Linked DNA regions of Homo sapiens: regions 2 and 3 are each linked to region 1. Evidence: promoter capture Hi-C in 16 types of primary human blood cells and fetal thymus (Javierre and others, 2016). All regions are on one chromosome and are shown on one strand. Each heading gives the region's core, a stretch centred on a gene start or on the middle of the fragment in contact. The rest is flanking DNA. Distances are from core to core; before and after follow the strand shown.

What was found. The method cuts DNA at HindIII sites, captures the fragments that hold promoters and counts their contacts. A CHiCAGO score of 5 or more calls a contact.
Region 2: a contact is called between a fragment that was not itself captured here and the fragment with the promoter of ABRAXAS2 in region 1, in 1 of 17 cell types (non-activated CD4 T cells). The highest score is 6.3, in non-activated CD4 T cells.
Region 3: a contact is called between a fragment that was not itself captured here and the fragment with the promoter of ABRAXAS2 in region 1, in 1 of 17 cell types (total CD4 T cells). The highest score is 5.1, in total CD4 T cells.

The regions. Positions count from the first base shown.
Region 1 is chr10:124,800,193-124,803,580 of GRCh38, reverse strand. ABRAXAS2 (abraxas 2, BRISC complex subunit) reads right to left here and starts at 1,762. Exons shown (of 9, transcript NM_032182.4): 1 at 1,680-1,762. The coding sequence starts at 1,751. RefSeq lists a silencer at 1,487-1,566 and enhancers at 1,055-1,608, 1,667-1,936, 1,609-2,163. The HindIII fragment of the contact is 5,454 bases long and covers 1-2,318 here.
Region 2 is chr10:122,381,384-122,384,771 of GRCh38, reverse strand. All of the region lies in intron 1 of PLEKHA1 (pleckstrin homology domain containing A1), which reads right to left. Among named protein-coding and RNA genes, the nearest start is that of PLEKHA1, 8.4 kb to the right of the region's middle. The HindIII fragment of the contact is 2,178 bases long and covers 467-2,644 here.
Region 3 is chr10:122,412,880-122,416,267 of GRCh38, reverse strand. It overlaps PLEKHA1 (pleckstrin homology domain containing A1), which reads right to left. Exons shown (of 12, transcript NM_001001974.4): 6 at 3,223-3,348; 7 at 266-409. Among named protein-coding and RNA genes, the nearest start is that of MIR3941, 2.4 kb to the left of the region's middle. The HindIII fragment of the contact is 740 bases long and covers 1,353-2,092 here.

The sequences.
Region 1 (3,388 bases), core at 513-3,012:
TTCTCCCAATAATAGCAGAGTTGAATAGTTGCTATAGAGACCATATGGCTTACAAAGCCTACAAAGTTTACTATCTGGCCCTGTACAGAAAAGTATGGTAGCCCCAGGTCTACAAATGAGTGGTTTTAAATTAATTTCTTGACTGGACAAAATAAGTATGTACTACAAAAGTAAATTGTTGGTTCTTCAACCTTAAAATTGAAATTATTTTCAAGGATTCCACATCTATAATTGTGGCAAAGTTAATATAAACAGGCATGGTCATATAAAACACAGTTGCAAACTATTGGCATTGGTGAAAATTTCTATGAAGTCAAGCACCACGCCTTGCAGAGTAGATATTAAGGGATATCTCTTGAATTAATTTTTTTCAACAGGTAGCTGCTTGTTCTTACAGTAATCTTGCCATATACATAAACTGTGATATTAGTAGGCATTCAAGAAATAAAGGACCCATTTTTAATAGTCCATGGACACTAGGGGTATCACAAACCCTTACATATGGAACTATATTACATTATTAAATAGCTGGTTGTAGTACCCTAGGCCATAGTCTTCAAAGCTGCTTCTGGAAAAACCCATGATGTATATATTCCTATTCCTATCATTAAGTTCTACCATCAACACTGAAGAGATGAAAGGTACAATAATTTAATTGCATTCAATTTACTAATGGAATCACCTCCCTGTGAAATCAGTTTTTATTAATGGAAGCTAAGATTGCTGACATCAAACCAAATGCAGTTCCTCCTTCTGCAGTGTACCATTTTGCTTTGTAATGACAACCAAAAACCCCACACATAGGTTTAATGAGTTTGAATCATTCACTATTAACATCACTTAAAATAATCCCCCAATTTGGTGGCCAAATTATATACCTCCTTTAAGAGAGAAGTGATCTAGTTTCACAAAGCATTTCCAATCAGAGGCCAATGACGTTAAAAGACAATTTGTAAAATAAAGACACTGAAACAGACAGGATCTGCTCCTCCTGTGGGCTCACAGCCTATGCATTTCCCATCACTCAGTAGTGGGCCTGTCACTTCCCTATTTCACTGTGACTAGTGAAAGAACTAGTCACAAAGAACTAAACACGCAACTTCAAGGAAATACAAAATAGACCCTGCACCGAACGCTCCTGTATACATTCTCCATTTTGCATCAGGGCGAAGAAAACACACAACCGTGTCTAACAAGTATCAGTAGTGACAGCCACGGTTTCACTCGCAGCACCCCCACGACAACCTGCGAGACCGGCGGGCGGGGCTGAGTACCTCGCCTACTGGACTAAACGCCCGGCCTTTAGATTCCTTCCCGACCCCGTGCGCCCCTCTTAAGTCTAGAAGCCTGACTTTCAGGGAGGGGCAGGCGCTCGGTTTCCACCGAGCGACTCCTGACACTGCAGGAGGCCAGGTGGGACAGTTTTGCTGCACGGGAGACGGCTGTGCCGGGACGGCCGAGCGGCTGAGAGCGCGAAGCCAGGGGGCCTGTCCCAGGGGCGAAGGAGCCCCCAGAGGCAAGAGCTCACCGGGGGCGGGAGCCGCCCGGGTCACCAGCTCCTCCGGCCGGCCCTGGTGCCCAGGGGGCGAGCCGCATGAGGTCCCGGCTTGGCCGCGAGCGCCGGCCTGAGACAGAGGCTGAAAGCCCCCAGCGGGCGCGGCAGGGGGCCCGGCACCTACGTGGTCCGCGTTGCTGTTGGCGCTGTGGAAACACACAGCACTGAAGGTGTAGCCCGAAATGGACGCCGCCATGATGGAAATCTCCAGCTACCCCATCATGCCCCGCGGAGGGCACACGGCCTTCCGGACGGCCCGACCCCTTGGCATCATGGGAAGTGGAGTCTGCGGCGGGCAGCGGCCGAGGGCCCTGAGCGCTCACAGTCTTGAAGGCTGAGGAACGCCGGTTTTTGCGATCGGAAGGACCCCGGCACCGTATCCTCCGCAGGGGTGTCGCTCCCGACACGCCTCAGACAGCGGTTGATAGTTCCGCAAACAGTTCTTTCCCTTTGCAAGTGAAACCTTAGTATTAAAAGACAACATTCTAGCCGGGCGCAGTGGCTCACGCCTGTAATCCCAGCACTTTGGGAGGCCGAGGCGGGCGGATCACCTGAGGTCAGGAGTTCGAGACCAGCCTGACCAACATGGAGAAACCCTGTCTATATTGAAAATACAAAAACTAGCCGGGCGTGGTGGCACATGCCTGTAATCTCAGCTACTCGGGAGGCTGAGGGAGGGGAATGGCTTGAACCCGGGAGGCGGAGGTTGCGGTGAGTCGAGATCGTGCCATTGCACTCCAGCCTGGGCAGCAAGAGCGAAGCTTCGTCTCAAAAAAAAAAAAAAAAAAAAAAAAAAAAGGCCAACATTTAGGCTGAGCGTGGTGGCTCGCGCCTGTAATCCCAGCACTTTGGGAGGCCGAGGTGGGCGGATCACGAGGTCAGGAGTTTGAGACCATCCTGGCTTACACGGTGAAACCCCGTCTCTACTAAAAATACAAAAAATTAGCCGGACGTGGTGGCGGGCTCCTGTAGTCCCAGCTACTCAGGAGGCTGAGGCAGGAGAATGGCGTGAACCTGGAAGGCGGAGCTTGCAGTGAGCCGAGATCGCGCCACTGCACTCCAGCCTGGGTGACAGACCAAGACTCCGTCTCAAAAACAAAACAAAACAAAAAGCCAACATTTGAGGCCGGGCGCGGTGGCTCATGCCTGTAATCCCAGCACTTTGGGAGGGGGGGGCGTGTGTGGGGAGTGTTAACCTGAGGTCAGGAGTGTTATGCGCGTTTGTGTGAAGAGACCACCAAACAGGCTTTGTGTGAGCAACAAGGCTGTTTATTTCAACTGGGTGCAGGCGGGCTGAGTCCGAAAAGAGAGTCAGCAAGGGAGATAGGGGTGGGGCCGATTTATAGGATTTGGGTAGGTAGTGGAAAATTACAGTCAAAGGGGGTTGTTCTCTGGTGGGAAGGGGCGGGGGTTACAAGGTGCTCAGTCGGGGAGCTTCTAAGCCAGGAGAAGGAATTTCACAAGGTAATGTCATCAGTTAAGGCAGGAACCGGTCATTTTCACTTCTTTTGTGATTCTTCAGTTACTTCAGGCCATCTGGATGTATACGTGCAGGCCACAGGGGATATGATGGCTTAGCTTGGGCTCAGAGGCCTGACAAGGAGTTCAAGACCAGCCTGGCCAACATGGTGAGACCCTGCCCACTCCCCTCTGCCCATCTCTATTGAAAATACAAAAACTAGCCGGGCATTCTGGTGCATGCCTGTAATCTCAGCTACTCAGGAGGCTGAGGCATGAGAATCGCTTGAACCCGGGAGACAGAGATTGCAGTGAGCCGAGATTGTGCCACTGCGCTCTGGCTCTGTCTCAAAGAAAAAAAAAAGGAAAAGAAAA
Region 2 (3,388 bases), core at 306-2,805, 2.4 Mb after region 1:
ATGTTTGGCCAGGCTGGTCTCAAAGTCCTGACCACAAATGATCCACCTGCATTGGCCTCCCAAAGTGCTGGGATTACAGGTGTGAGCCACCACACCTGGAGCAGTAACAATTTTAAAAACTCATTTATAAATGACTACAAGTCATTTTTTTTTTTTTTTTTTTGAGACAGAGTCTCGCTCTGTCACCCAGGCTGGAGTGCAGTGGCACGATCTCGGCGCACTGCAGGCTCTGCCCCCTGGGGTTCACACCATTCTCCTGCCTCAGCCTCCCGAGCAGCTGGGACTACAGGCGCCCACCACCTCACCCGGCTAATTTTTTGTATTTTTAGTAGAGACGGGGTTTCACCGTGTTAGCCAGGATGGTCTCAATCTCCTGACCACGTGATCCGCCCATCTCGGCCTCCCAAAGTGCTGGGATTACAGGCGTGAGCCACCGCGCCCAGCCAAATAAAGTTTTTTAAAAGCTTTCCATGGCAAAAACCTGATAAGCAAAGTCAAAGCCAGTAGAAAATATTTGCAACTTATATCATAAACAAAGGGCTAATCTCCCTAGCATTTAAAGAGCTTGCAAAAAATGTTAAGGGAAATATATCAAACGTTCAATAGAAAAATGAGTAAAAGACATGAACATTGTACCAAGAGAGATATAAAAATGGCCTTTAAATATATGATGAGATATTCAGTATCACTCATAACAGGACAAATACAAAAAAACCATACCGAGATGTAGCCATTGCCAATGACATCCCAAGAACAGAACAACACGAGAGACTACCACAGGGATTCAAATATCAAAATCTATACAGTAAGAAATGGCTCAGGAAAGATAACTGGTTTCTTTAAAATTAAATTCAAAAGCAGGAGAAGAAAAGGAACTAGAGGAGAAACCTATGAATTAAAAAAGACTTTAGATATCTGGACCAATCACGACATGTGGATTTTATTTAAATCCTGTTTCTTTAAAAATAAAAACAAAAACAAACAAAAAAACACTGACATACTTAAAATCGGAAATTTGAATATTGTCTGATGATATTAAGAAAACAGACACATTATTTTTGGTGTGATAACGGCATTGTGATTGTTACCAAAAAAAGGAGGAGTCCTTTTCATTTAGAGATATTTACTGATATAAAATAAATGTTATTTATCTGGGGCCAGGCATGATGGCTCACAATTGTAATCCCAGCACTTTGGGAGGCTGAGGCAGGAGGATTGTGTGAGCTCAGCAATTCAAGCCTACAAAATGACAAGACATTATCTCTGCCAAAAAAAAAAAAAAAAATTAGCCAGGCATGGTGGTGTGTGCCTGTAGTCCCAGCTACTTGGGAAGCTGAGGTGGGATAATCGCTTCAGCCCAGGAGATTGAGTCTGCAGTAAGCTATGATTGTGCCACTGTACTCCAGCCTGGGCAATAGAGCAAGACCCATTCTAAAAAAAAAAAAGAAAAAAAAAAAACAGAAAGAAAGAAAAGAAAAAAGCAAGAAAGAAAAGAAAAAAATGTTATCTGGGATTTGTTTCAAAATAATTTTTAGAGAAGGGAATAAACGGAGGCACTGGTGGCAGGGTTGGTAGTTGCTGGGGCTAAATGATGGTGTTCATGGGATTGGTTACACTATTCTATTTTTGTGGATGTTCACAAATCTCCATAATAGAAAAGTTTTTTAAATCTATACTATACAGATATACCATTTCTCATCTATTAGACTGGCAAAAATTCAAAAGTTTGACAACACACTATACTGATGAGGCTGTAAGAAAACAGAAACTCTTACATTGCTGGCAAGAAGGCAAAATGGTAAAACCCTACTGGGTGAATCTGGTACTATTTAACAAAATCATATATGCTTTTATCCTATGATCCAGCATTCCTACTTGGTACTGTAATGTGAAACATTTTAGGTATAACAAGACTTCCAGACCATTATAATGTACATTATTGGATAATGTAAATATGTTGATATGATTATATTTAAAATAAAAGAAAACATTTATTTGTTATTAGGAACCAAGACTTTCACAGTGAGAGAAAAGAGGTACAAACAAAAAACAAAAGAACAAACTGTGTACAATACATCTGAATTAGAAATAATATGAACTACATCATTTCTGAAGATATGACAGTAATAGAAAATCACCACTTTGTAATCCCAATGTCTCACTGATTTACACAAGCATCTTCAATGAACACTAAAACCACTAGATGAAATGCTGTTAGGAAACAGAATATTCATAGTCTCAAAATATCACCCCACAGTTTTGTTACTAATTGCAAACAGGAAATGTATCTTTACATTGGAGAGATCTTATAGCCCCCACCTTTACCAAGTAACTTGGTATCTATTGAATCTAGAAGCTAGGTACTAATGGATACCACTTCTCTCTAAACAAACCAAGTATAGTATGATTCCACTGACATGAAATATGCAGAATGGGCAAATCTATAAAGCTAGAAGGTAGATTACTAGTTGCCTAGGTACAGGGGAAATGAGTTGTTGTCTAAGGATAGGAGGGTACAGGGTTTCTTTGGGGATGATACTAATATTCTAAAATTGATTGTGGTGTTGTCCACGTAACTGTGAATGCACTAAATCATACATTTTAAATAAGTGATTTATATAGTGTGAATTATCTCAATAAAGCTTTTTCTAAAAAAAGAAACGATTACAATTGTCTTTCATTCTAGAGTACATAAGAAACCCTAAGGAATATTTCATCTCCCAGACCTCTATTGTTGGAGTATCCCAGAGGGTGGTCTGTGGATCTCTTTCCTATATATACTCAGTGTCTTGGTGAGGTTACTCATTCTCACAGGCCTAAATATTGATGACTTCCAGACTGTTATCTCCAGCCTTGAACACTGTTGACCTCCAGACCCATGTATACAACTGCCTATTCTACGGTTCCACTTATCTAACAAGCTATCTCAAACTTAACAAACTGAGCTCCAGATATTCCCCTCAGAATCCTGATCCAGCCTTCCCTAGCTCAGTAAAGGGCCACTCCCTTCTTCCAGTTGTTCAGGAAAAGTATCTTGAAGTCATACTTAAGTTTTTCTCACCCTGTGGTAGTCCGTTCTTGCATTGCTATAAAGAACTACCTGAGGCTGGGTAATTTACAAAGAAAAGAGGTTTAATTAGCTCACAGTTCCACAGTCTGTACAGGAGGCATGACTGGGGACGCCTCAAGAAACTTACAATCATGGTGGAAGGCAAAGAGGGAGGAGTTACCTCTTACATCGCAGGAGCAGGAGGAAGAAAGAGAGAAGAGAGAGGTACACACTTTTAAACAACCAGATCTCAGGAGAACTCACTCACTATCATGAGAACAGAAAGTAGGGATGTCTGTCCCATGAACCAACCGCCTCCCAACAGGCGCCTCCTCCAAC
Region 3 (3,388 bases), core at 473-2,972, 2.4 Mb after region 1:
AACATTAAACTGTTAGGAAAGCTCATTTAAACTGAAAGTCAGTGGTAATGGGCATTAACTTTCCTGGCCCCCTGCAAACCAAGCAAATAACAGCATTGAATTATAAACAGAGAATATCCCCTATTTTATCTCCTGACTCTCCTCAGCATGCCGGTCTCTCACTTTGGGTCTTTCATAAAATAAAGCAAACAATTTCCATGTTAATTTGAGTTTGCTAGAACGTAATCCTTTTTCATTATTTCATGTATTTTGTTAAGCTACTCACCACTGCTCCTTGTTTTACACAATATCCAGCTTTGATAACCGCACTATCTTGAGGTGGTTTAGGAGTAAAGTAAGGAAGATGGCTTTGTGACCGTTTCAGATTATTTCTGTCAATACTTTCACCACATTCATTTACTTCTTCTTTCTAAAATGAAGCAAAATAAATAAATTATTTTCTTGCTTGTTTAGCATACTTTTATTTCATATTATCCCAGTAGAAAATCTTAAAATCCACCTTAGATTAGTCAGAAACAGATTTTTGAAGAGTTTTCTAATTAATCTGAGATACTTACTCTTAATTTTCCTGTCACTGATTAAAGCACAAATTTCCATTCCTCTTGTTTTGCACAAGTCCTGCCACCAGTGCTCTTTTTTGGGGAAGGAGTTAACTTTTTATTTTGAAATAATTATAAGGATTCACCAGAAGCTGCCCAAAAAAAGTACAACAGGTCCTATGTACCCTTTCACTAGTTTCCCCTCAAAGGGAAACGGCGTAACATTATCAAAAAACAAGAAATGGACATTGGCACAACCCACAAACTTTATTCGGATTCCACCAGTTTTACATACATTCATCTATGTGTGTCTATACAGTTCTATGCAGTTTTATCACATGTGTAGATCTGTGTAACTACTACCACATTTAAGACCCAGAATTGGTCATCACCCCAAGGCTCCTTTGTGAACTTTAGAGTTCCTACCCCTAAATCCCCTGGCAGCCACTAATCTGTTCTCCAAGACTATAATTTTGACATTTTGAAAATGTAATGTAAATGGAAGCATACAGAAGGTTATCTTTTGAGATTATCTTTTTTCACTCAGCATAATTCTCTAGAGATTCGTCCAGACTGTTCCTTGTATCTAGAGTTCATTCCTTTTTATTGCTATATTTCCATGGTATGGATGGATGACCAGTTGTTTAACTGTTCACCCATTAAAGGACATTTGAGTTGTTTCCCACTTTTAGCTATTAGGAAAAAAGCTGCTATCAACATTCATGCACAAGTTTTTATGTGAATGTAATTTTCCCTTTCTCTACGATAAACACCTAGTCCTGCAAATGCTGGGTTGTACAGTAATCACAAGCTTACTTTTATTATTAAAAAAAAAACAAAACATAAACACTAAACTGTTTTTCAGAGTGGCTAATTTTCATTCCCACCAGCAACACCTGAGAGATTATGTTTCTCCTCAACCTTGGCAGCATTTGTGTCGTCACTTTTATTTCAGCCATTCTGAGAGGTGTGCAGTGATCTTTTATTGTGCTCTTAATTTGTATTTTTTCCCTGCTAGCTAATGATGGTGAACATCTTTTCATGTGCTTACTTACCATCTGTTTATCTTTTATCTTTTGATGAAATATCTGTTCATGAATTTTCTAATTGGATTTCTTGGGCTTTTTACTGTTGGGTTCTGAGTTCTTTCTATGTTCTAGATAAAAGTCCTTTGTTGGACATGTGGTTTGCAAATATTTTCTCCCAGTTTGTAGCTTTTCTTTTCATCCTCTTAAGAAGGTCTTTCATAGAGCAAGTATTTTTTATTTTGATGAGGTCCAATTTACCAATTTTTGCCTTTTATGATAGACATATATTATTTTATAATTTTTAAAACTATACTACAAAATAAATGATGCAATAAAATTATACCCTCCATAAAATCCTAGAAACTACTGAAATATCTATACCAAAATTACAATGCAACAAAATCTTAACTCTAGACAAAATTAAAACAGCCACAGATACAAACTAATACAGTGTCTTAACACAACTACAGGAAAATAGTCTTACCCCTTATGTCAACATAGGTCATAATACCAGTGAAAGAAGCTTAATCTAGGTACATAGTAACCAGAAGGTTAACAGTTTAAAATCATTACTTTTGGAAAAAGTAAACACACAATCCTAGCTTATTTTTTTATCCAACTTTGGTGGAAAATGTATGCTCTATGACAGCAGGGAATTTCTGTTCATTAACATACCCTTTGCCAAGCATAAAGAAAGCACTCAATAGTTAATTAATTAATTAATGTTGTAAGATTTCTAATCCCACTAATCACCCTCCCGTAGCAAAAGACCTGAAAAATGTGGGGAATGATACAATTTGATTTAAAAGATTTATAAAGTGTCAAAGTCTTTTGAGTTCAAAAGGCACACTGGTAATGAAAATACCCAAGCTTGGCAATACCAATTGATTACTTTAAAATTCTTGGTTTCTCAACTACTAGTAACTTAATATCCATTACAAATTCATCCTTTTCAATAGCAAAACAAGAAATTCAAGCTCAGACAAGAGTTTTAATTTCATCAAAAATTGTATGTAAATTTATATTTTTCCTAAAACTCAAATAAAGACTTAATTTAGCATATTAGTACTTCTGAGATATAACTTAGTTAAAATTCCAGTCTTCTGTTTAGCTCACTTAGGCCAGGTTGTAGAAAAAATAGATTTTAAAAATTACTACTTGCAAACTCTTGACTCAGCAATTTTATTTCTAGGAATTTCTCCTTTAAGAATATTCATCATAGCATTGTTTATAAAGTAAAAGAAACAAAAAGGAAAAGGAACTCTATTTGTCCAATAGAGGATTTGTAATTTATGGTAAATCCATGGAAGAACTACTATGCACTCATTAAAAATGATATAAAAGGATTTCTGATGACTTGGAAAATGTTCATGATACAAGTGAAAAAATCTGTTTACAAAATGTAATATACAACTCATATCTCCATTTCTGAGGTGAAAAGTACATGAAGAAAGGCTCAGAGAAATCATGAGAAGTTTTAAATGTTATGTAATTTCCAAATTTTTTATAATAAATACTTTTGAAATAAACAAAAATATTTTATAGTAATTGTATATTATACCAATTAAGCAAAGATGCACTGTTTTAGTTTTAATAATATAAAAATCAATATACAATAATTAGACCCTCACACAATAGAAGAGTTACTTAATTACCTGAGTGGGAGTAATGATGGGTACGCCACCAACAATATCAGTTCTGTAAGACACTTGCTTTTTCCCACATTCACCATGGCGACTTAGGTTATCAGAATTAGGCTGTGAGTCTGACTGCTTTGGTACCTGAAATAGTAAATAAAATGAATCATTTTGCAACCAGCAT